Regions from separate parts of the Homo sapiens genome. Here region 1 is linked to region 2. The links are contacts of gene promoters, found by promoter capture Hi-C in human tissues and cell types (Jung and others, 2019). All regions are on one chromosome and are shown on one strand. Each heading gives the region's core, a stretch centred on a gene start or on the middle of the fragment in contact. The rest is flanking DNA. Distances are from core to core; before and after follow the strand shown.

What was found. The method cuts DNA at HindIII sites, captures the fragments that hold promoters and counts their contacts. A contact is called where the count stands out against the background at its distance.
Region 1: a fragment that was not itself captured here is called in contact with the fragment with the promoter of LOXL1 in region 2 in 1 of the 25 tissues and cell types used here (lymphoblastoid cells).

Annotation. Positions count from the first base shown.
Region 1 is chr15:73,267,886-73,271,928 of GRCh38, reverse strand. NEO1 (neogenin 1) reads right to left here. Exons shown (of 29, transcript NM_002499.4): 17 at 1,696-1,919; 18 at 1,475-1,613. Among named protein-coding and RNA genes, the nearest start is that of MIR12135, 30 kb to the left of the region's middle. The HindIII fragment of the contact is 6,003 bases long and covers 1-4,043 here.
Region 2 is chr15:73,923,166-73,927,711 of GRCh38, reverse strand. It overlaps LOXL1 (lysyl oxidase like 1), which reads right to left and starts at 1,250. Exons shown (of 7, transcript NM_005576.4): 1 at 1-1,250. The coding sequence starts at 928. The region is part of intron 1 of LOXL1-AS1 (LOXL1 antisense RNA 1); the gene reads left to right. RefSeq lists a silencer at 1-2 and enhancers at 1-744, 3,783-4,546. The HindIII fragment of the contact is 8,654 bases long and covers 1-3,795 here.

The DNA.
Region 1 (4,043 bases), core at 190-2,689, 660 kb after region 2:
CTGTTTTTTTTTTTTTTTTTTTGAGATGGAGTCTAGCTCTGTCACCCAGGCTGGAGTGCAGTGGCACAATCTCTGCTCATTGCAACCTCTGCCTCCTGGGTTCAAGTGATTCTCGTGCCTTAGCCTACCGAGTAGCTGGGATTACAGGTGCGCACCACCACATCCAGCTAATTTTTGTATTTTTAGTAGAGATGGGGTTTCGCCATGTTGGCCAGGCTGGTCTCGAACTCTTGGCCTCAGGTGATCCGCCCACCATGGCCTCCCAAAGCACTGGGATTACAGGTGCAAGCCACCACTCCCAGCCCCAAATATAACTTTTAAAAGCCCTATTTCTTCAAAGAATAGATGATTTACAGATTAATATTTTTCACTATGAGTTTATTCTGCAAACATACTGCCAACTATTGAGGTTACAGCTCTAAAGTGAAGCTGTTCGTTTATGCAACAGGACAATACGTTTCCTGTGTTTCCATGTGATAGCTGAAAACTTTTAACACACTAGTAGGAAAATGAGCAAATTAAGTACATCCTTAAATTTACTCAACTCTTCCTAAAATACTAGAATTCTCTTAGTATAAAATGTAAGGAAGCCTGGTGAAATGCAAATATCCTAAGGGAAAACACAATCTCATTTGTTATCTAATGGGTTAGGATTGAAGTAAAAACATTTTCTTAAAATGGTTGGCAAAGAAAGCAAACTCAAGGTCTATTTAAACTTTGATGTACTGTATTTCTAACTCTTCAAATCCAACCCTTCTCTCTGTACAAAGTCCAGTGAACTGTGCAGAAGACAAAAAGACACTGAGGCCAAGCCCAGTTTGTGGAGAATTTATAACTCCATTATTCATATAGGAGAGAAATAGGAGGCCAAAATAGACAGAGATTTGAAATGGTTATGCATATCCCTAGACTAGGAAAGCCCAGGGGGTAGCAGAAAGGCATGTCTAAAAGTCAGCAAAAACCAAACAGAATCTCAAACCCAGATAGCCTGTTCTCTCTTTAATTTGCTTAGTCATCTTTTCCCTCTCGTGTCCACTTACAAAGACCTTAAGGATTATTTCAGTGGAAGATTTTATAAGACGCTAATTTGCTTGCAAGCAAACTGCAGAGGCAGCTTTGGGGTCACCCAGCAAAGTGTTCAGGCTCCAAGCAAGCATGGCATTGGAACTGCCTGGTCAAGGGCAGGTCACTTCATCTTTTCTATCTCAGTTTACCAGTAAAGCAGGATTAATGGCAATAATCCCTTACATCTACCCAGTGCTTTGTAATTTATCATGTTTTCCCTGTAGTATCCTGTTATTTGCTAATGTTCTTGTTCAGTAATTAAAAACACACAACTTGTCAGCTGAAATAGCAAACACTGAATTCCAAATGTAGTTGCTCACTGTGTTTTGTAAATATGTCAATTCAGGCACTCAATTCTTTCCTTGGGAAGTAAAAGCAGCCATGTGACATGGCTTCTGACAACACATACCTAATTCAAAGGTGGTCCCATGGGCTGTCATACTCCATGTACTTGATCTTCGACCTTTGGTCACCATCACAGAGAATTCATAGAGTGTATTCGGCTTTAAACCAGTCACCAAATAACTCAAAGTGGTTGCATTTGCATTCTGAAAAAAACATGAATTGAGACTTTAAAATTAGAAAGTATCAATGATTAGCTTTTTTCAGCCAGGGCAAATGTGTCAGTACCTTGTACTTGGTGTTTGCTGGGATGTTGGTTTTCCATCGGACGGTGTAGTATCGGGAGTCTGTAATCTTCTGGTGCTTGGGCAGCGAGTTGTCTGCCCACGTAATCCTGATGGTGTCATGACTCAGAATGGAAGCCTGAACTCCCACTGGTGGCATCATGGGAGTGGGATCTGGCACTGGAGTGTATGGAGCATTAATAACAAATAAATCAACTTCAGAAGTGTCTGAGCAGAAAATAATTTAAAAAGGGAAGTGGCATTTTAATGTAAACAAAAATAAAATAAAAGGGAAATGCAGGGTAATATAATGGAATGAAAGGTGAGAAATGGAGAAAAAGAAAGAAAATTCAGAGTTAATAGATAACCACCATTCATTTAAAAGACTATTTCCACTTGTGTTCTTTCAGGAAAAAATTACAGAAAAATGTTAAGAGAAGCAGTAATAAACTATATTCTCTACTGCATTCTATAGGCATATTAAAATGTTATAATCCAGTGATTATATTAATGTATTCGTGCTTGAATTTTCTTAAAATAACTTGAAAATTCTACTTCCTGTTCAAAAAGCCTCATGAGGCCAGGTGCAGTGGCTCATGCCTGTAATCCCAGCACTATGGGAGGCAGAGGCGGGCAGATCACCTGAGGTCAGGAGTTCAAGACCAGCCTAGCCAATATGGTGAAACCTGTCTCTACTAAAAATACAAAAATTAGCTGGGCATGGTGGCAGGTGCCTGGGGTCCCAGCTACTCGGGAGGCTGAGGCATGAGAATCGCTTGAATCTGGGAGATGGAGGCTGCGGTGAGCTGAGATTGCACCACTGTACTCCAGCCTGGGTGACAGAGCAAGACTCTGTCTCAGAAAACAAAAAAACCCCAAAACCAAAAAGGCTCACGAAGACAAAAACTGCTTTTAGAATCAGGGGTACAATTTCTAAACAAGCAATACAAACCTCATGGTTTGAGATTTCAGTGAATGTGGCTGAATTTTTGGGACAAGAGTTATCTGTGCATATCACTATTCATGTAAGGGTCCAACACTCAAACCTGAGTCTTGAATGTCAGCCATGGGTATTGACGGTATCTGATACCCACAAAGGGTCAAGTTCAGACCTCCTGATGTCCTGGGTCTAATGGCAGTACAGTGACATAGCTGACACCCAAATAAAGCAAAAGGAACTCAAGGGTGTACTCTTCCTTCAGGAAAGGTAAGCTGACACCATGCTGGACTATCTACCATAGTTTCTTCCACAGAGTCAGAGAACAACCCAGTGATGAATTCCCATCAGTTAACGGAAATGCCATGGTTATCACAGTTCCAAGTAACAAACTTCACAAACTTTAGAAATCAGAGTACTGTACAGTACTTATTTGATGGAAAGTCTATACTCATGGAGCTGTCCTGTGCCATATACAACAGACACCTTCTCTGAGGCCAGAATGAGCACAAAAGCACCATGCACCATGGGCCCAGGGCAATACAGCAGAATCCATACGGGCTTTCCCAATTCATGCTTAGGTTTTCTAAGTTTACACATACTGATTTAAGTTCACAGTTTACAATGGGTTTCTCACATAGTCATGGTGACTAGCCCTTATTACTCAAAATGTGGAATGGCATGGACCTTGTTTATGAATAATTGCTAAGCTAAAGTAATAGTCTCCATTTGTGTATTTCCTGTGCAATGAGGACTAAAAATAACAGAGGAGTAGCATACATTATATAACCAAGAGCTTTGTTCAAAGTTTGGCAGGACACATACCAATTAGTTACAGAAAATGCACCTTCAGGTGTAGAAGTCATTAGAATTCTTGTAGAAATTTTTTTTCTTATATGTAGCAACCCTTAGAAAACATATCTAGATTACATGACTTAGGAACATTTTCTTGTGTATTTCTAGCTAGTAGGCTATATTTTTAAGCCACATAAAAGGAAGTAATGTCAAATTTGTTTTTTACTATTATAGCCTGATTTTAGAAAGTAGCAGACCACTTATTTAAATACTTTTTCACTTAATTTTTGCTCCTTTTTGTAATACTAAAGCTATTTCTAAAAGAAATTATAAACTGTAAGCATATAGAAGACAGAACAGAACTACCAAACATGTAGTAGTCTTAAATAGAAGCTTAAAAAAAAGGACAGAGAATATTAGGCCCCCTGATGTTCTGGGTCTAATGGCAGTAGAGTGACATAGCTCACACCCAAATAAAGCAAAAGGAACTCAAGGATGTACTCTTCCTTCAGGAAAGGTAAGCCTTCCTTAAGAATGTTACCAAATCTGCACAATTATGCAACATATCCAGCAGATATCACTGGACAATAAAGAATCAAAATTTTTGGAAATAAATGAAA
Region 2 (4,546 bases), core at 1-2,500:
ACCAGCCCAGGCGTGGGTCTCCGCCATGGGCCTGCGCCGCCTCGGGACCGGGGTCAGGGTAGGCCTGCTCGAAGCCGGGGGTGCCCTCGCTGTACAGACTGTGCGAGTAGCGGCGGTCCAGGCCGTCGGGGGGCGGCGGCGGCGGCGGCACGTAGGGCCTCTCGGGGGCCGGGTAGAAGCCCTGAGGCGGGTACTCGGGCAGCTCTTCGCCGCCGCCGTACTCCTCGTAGCGCGCCCGGGGCTGGTAGGGGTAGATGACCCCCGCCGAGGCCACGGCCGCCGCCCCCGCGCCCACGCCGCCGCCCGCGGGCCGGTAGTACACGAAACCCTGGTCGTAGGTCCGCGACGCGGGGTCGTAGTTCTCGTACTGGCTGACGAAGGGCGCCTGCGGGTAGGGGAACTGCTGCGGGTAGGAGGGCTGCTGGCGGTAGGTGCTGGCGAAGGCCGAAGCCGAGACCGAGGAGGCGGAGCCCCCGTGCCGTTGCTGGGAGACGGAGGTGCGGGCCCGGGCCATGCCCGTGCTGTCCCCGACGGCCACCTCGCGCCAGTTGTCGGGCACCTGGCCAAAGCCGAATGGGTGCCGCGCCTGGCCGCGCACGGTGTCCGAGCCCACGCGCCCCGGCAGGGGCAGGGACGGCGCCTGCCGACGCCGGGGGCTCCCGTGGCTGCGCCGCTGCTGGGCCTGGGGCGCGCCGGCCAGCAGCACCCGGGAGCTACTCTCGGAGCGCTGAGGTCCGGCCGGCACGTACTCTGAGCCCGAGTTGAGCAAGCTGTACACCTGCCCGTTGTTCTCCCACTGGATCAGCTGCCGCCAGCGGGCGGGGTCCGAGCCCTGCCCGGGCTGCGCCTGCTGCCCGTGCACCAGCACGCACAGGCAGGCGCCCCACACCAGGGCCCCCAGCTGCCGGCTGCCTCGGGCCAGAGCCATGGTGACCCCTCTGCAGAGGCCTGGTGGACAGAGAGGCTCTCAGGAGTGGCCCCCTGGGCGTGCTTCTCTTCCCACGGCCTCGAGGACAGGAAGGCTCCTTGCTTGCCCCAGCTCTAGCTTTGTCCATGCTGGCCTTGTCCCGAGCGGGACGGCTCCTCCGATGACAGCATTTCAAGGCCAAGGGGTCAGGGCAGGGCAGGGGCGGTGCCCAGGGCTGCACGAGGCTCTCCGCAGGGCACCGGGCGGGCAGGACCGCCTGTGGGCCTTACATGGCCAGCCCCGCACTGGCTGGCCGCTCGGCTGGCGCTTTCCCACTCTGAATGAATAAGCAACAGGCTGGGAGCGTCGGGAGGCTTCGGCCTCCTGGTCCGCCTGCTGGGGCCTCCTCCGCGGGGCCCTATGGCCCGCCGGCTTTTAGCTATGCGCCGGTCCCACAGCTGCAGTGCTCCCTCAGTCCCTGGAGTTCCCAGCCAAGCCACAGACCTGCCTCTGAGGAAGGGAATCGAGCAGGGAGTAGGAGGGGACCTCTGGGGACTCGGGCCTGGTAAGTGGGGCTCTGGCAGGCAGAACGGGGCTGGGGTGTCAGCACCACCCCGCCCATTCCTCTCTGCTTTGGTCACAGCATCCCTGGTCTCCACCTTGCTCACTGGCTTCTCGTTTGGGCTGGAATGGGCCTCTGACTCCTGTCTGCCCCAGCCTCCTTCCCGTACTCCCGGGTTCTCCCTTTTCCTTGTTCCCTAAAGCCAGTGCTAATTAAGACACACCCTCTTTGCATGTTCCTTCCACCATTATCCCACACCCTCAATAGGAAGAAAAAAAAAAAAAAGACACACCCTCTTTGTTGGTGGGCCTCCTCGGGGAGATGCTGAACAGGGACCACTCTCTAATTCCAGGTCCCAGGTGCACCGCAGCTCTTGGGCCTGCGAAGAGAGGCACTGGAGCTGCACCTTTTCCCTCGTGGCACACCTCAGGGGCTTACTTTCCCAGTCTGAAGAGTGGGGTGTATCCCTGAGCTGAAAAGCACTTGTGAGATCCTGGGAGAGATCAACTTCCCAGACATCACGTATGGTTTCTGTCCTACATCTCTTGGCTCTGCATAGCCTGGGAATAACTTGAGTGTACACATGGATAAAATGAAACTGGGGGCTGTCTTTGATATGGGACAGGGGTCACTGTGAGGCAGAGAAGCCAGTAAGCATTGAACAACAGAAGGGGGTTCCGGAGACCTGGCCTGGTCCTGTTGCTGTGTGGCTTAGTCCCTTACTCTATCTGATCCAGGTGCCACGGCTTACCAATGGAAGATTAGGCCAGATGGCTCCTGAGAGTGCTTTGGGAGATTCTCTGTTCCTTCTGGGAATGGCAGGGATAGGAGGGGGTCCCAGAAGTTTGAACGCTTTGGCATCCAAGAAATCACACTCCAAATACTGCTCTTCTGGCCTCCCCTGGGCTGCCTTCTCCAACCGTGTTCCTGGGAACCGAAGGGCAGAAATTGCCCTCTTGGGCTTATAAACAAGGTATGAAGGACCTGTCCTTAATTTGGCTCCTGTATATTCTTTATTTTGGAAATGCCTGGAGCCCACCTAGAGAGGAGGCAACTAGAGTGGACATTCTTTGGGAACTATAGACCTCCCAACCCCATCCTTGCCAGGCAGCATTTGTTCACCCATTGCACTGTTCTTCAGGACTGAGGCTTGGACTCCAGCATGTCTCTACCCTTTAAATGCCCAGAATCCAGCCCAGAGGTAGGGGGCTTCCAATACCTCCTGGCCAGCAACTTGTCAACGCTGACACCTCAGCTCCCCAGCATGGGGTTTCCATCTCAGACTCCAGACAAGATTCCTCCAAAGAGCCACTGGTGTGACTGACACCAAGCAAGATGCTGAGGCAGGGCTTACTGAGGGCCGGGACCTGGAGGGTTAAGCCTTCCCTCCCTCCTGCTTGCCCCCTGCAGTGTTGGCCTCAGCTGCTTGGAATCCCTGGGGTCCTGTAGGGCCCTCCCGCCAGCCAGATGGGCAGCTGCTGCAGCAGAGGAGGGGGAGAAATGGAAACAGGCCTCAGGGTACCCCTAGGCAGGGAGGGAAGGGAAGAGGAGTGGAGGGAGGACAGAGGATGGCTGTGAGGAAGGGAACTCAGTTGCCCTAACGTGAAGGCAGGACCCCTCGCCTTGACTCGGACAGCAGGGCAGGGGCTGCCTCAAGGCTTTGGATGTGGGGGGATCAGGGCACATGCCATTCCACTCAGCGGGCCTCAGAGCCAGCTCTTGGCGTGAAACCTTACCCGATGCTGGCTCCTGCTCCTCTCTCTTTTTTTCTTAATAAGGTCGAATCAGAGTGAGTCAGAGGAGCCAAGTTTCCTGTTAGGCTCTATTTGAATAAACTCTGCTCTGAACATAGCCTGGGCCTCTGCACAGACTCCCCTGGCCAGGACTGCGCTCCTGCCAGCCATCCCTGCTGAGATGGAGACCTGGGGGTCCACACCATGACTTGAGCTAGGGACCTGGCCTGGCCCAGCCACTCCCCGGGGAAGCTTTTTAAGCTCTCAGAGCTTCAGAGTCCCGTCTGTGACCTGGGGGTAATCATACCTTTCTTGTGGCATATTTGAGAGGATGGAATGAGAGGATTATGAAAAGTCCCCAGCACAGAGCCAGACATGTGGCCACTATTTTCCTTCTTTCCTCTTGACTTGTGAGAGAAGGGAGGGATTTATCTCTTGGGGTTGACCCCCACTCCCACTTCCTCTGTCTTTCCTGTTTTTATCTGTCTTCAGCATCTTTCCTTGCTCAGGGTGAACCTTGTGCAGGGGGGCCAGAGGTGGCCCCTCCACCAGAGCTGTCCTCTCCCTTCCTCTCTACTCCCTCCTTCTGACCTCATTCTACTTGGGTTTAGGTCTCCTGCAGTGGCTGACAGGCCCAGCAGTTCTGTGAGCCCAGGGGAGCCTGCCTTCCATCACCTCTCCTCATGCTGGGCAAGGCCTTGCCTTGGTGGCTGGAGGTGTCCTGGCATCCTTAGGTTGAAACCTGCAGGGTGGGGTCCTAAAAGAGACCTGGGCAGGTTATGGAGGGTGCAGAGCTGGGGTCAAATGAGGGCGTGGACTCGAAGGCTGAGCTGAGCCAGAGCTGTCTGGGGTGAAGGGCAGCTTCTCTCTCCGCCTGTCCCTGCAGGCTGGGATTCACACCCACATTTTTAAGACCCAGGCATGTGCTTGAAGCTTGTTGCCAGTTCCTGGCACTAGGAACCGGTGTCAAGGGACCCTCGGAGGGGTGGTGATAGAAGGATGAAAGAGCCTGTTGATTGCGCATGACTTTATTAAGCCCCTGCCACGTGCTCAGCTCTGTGTTGCCGGGGCTCCCACGGAGCAGCCAGGGTCCTGTGACCCTGTCATGGAAGGCTGAGTTCTGGAAAGTCCATGGGGGAACCAGGAAGCAGCAGGCCTGACCAGCAGCGGGTCTGGGGAGCAGAGAGGGGTCAGGAGCTGTGGGATTCCTCCCTTGCTTTGCAGAGGGACGTACTAGGAGGCCCATGGTGGGTCGGAATTTTCTGTGATAGTGGGGATGCCAAGAGGGAAGGCCCCAGAGCACCCAAACCCTCCATCTTCCAGGCTGCGCTGTAGATGGGTTTG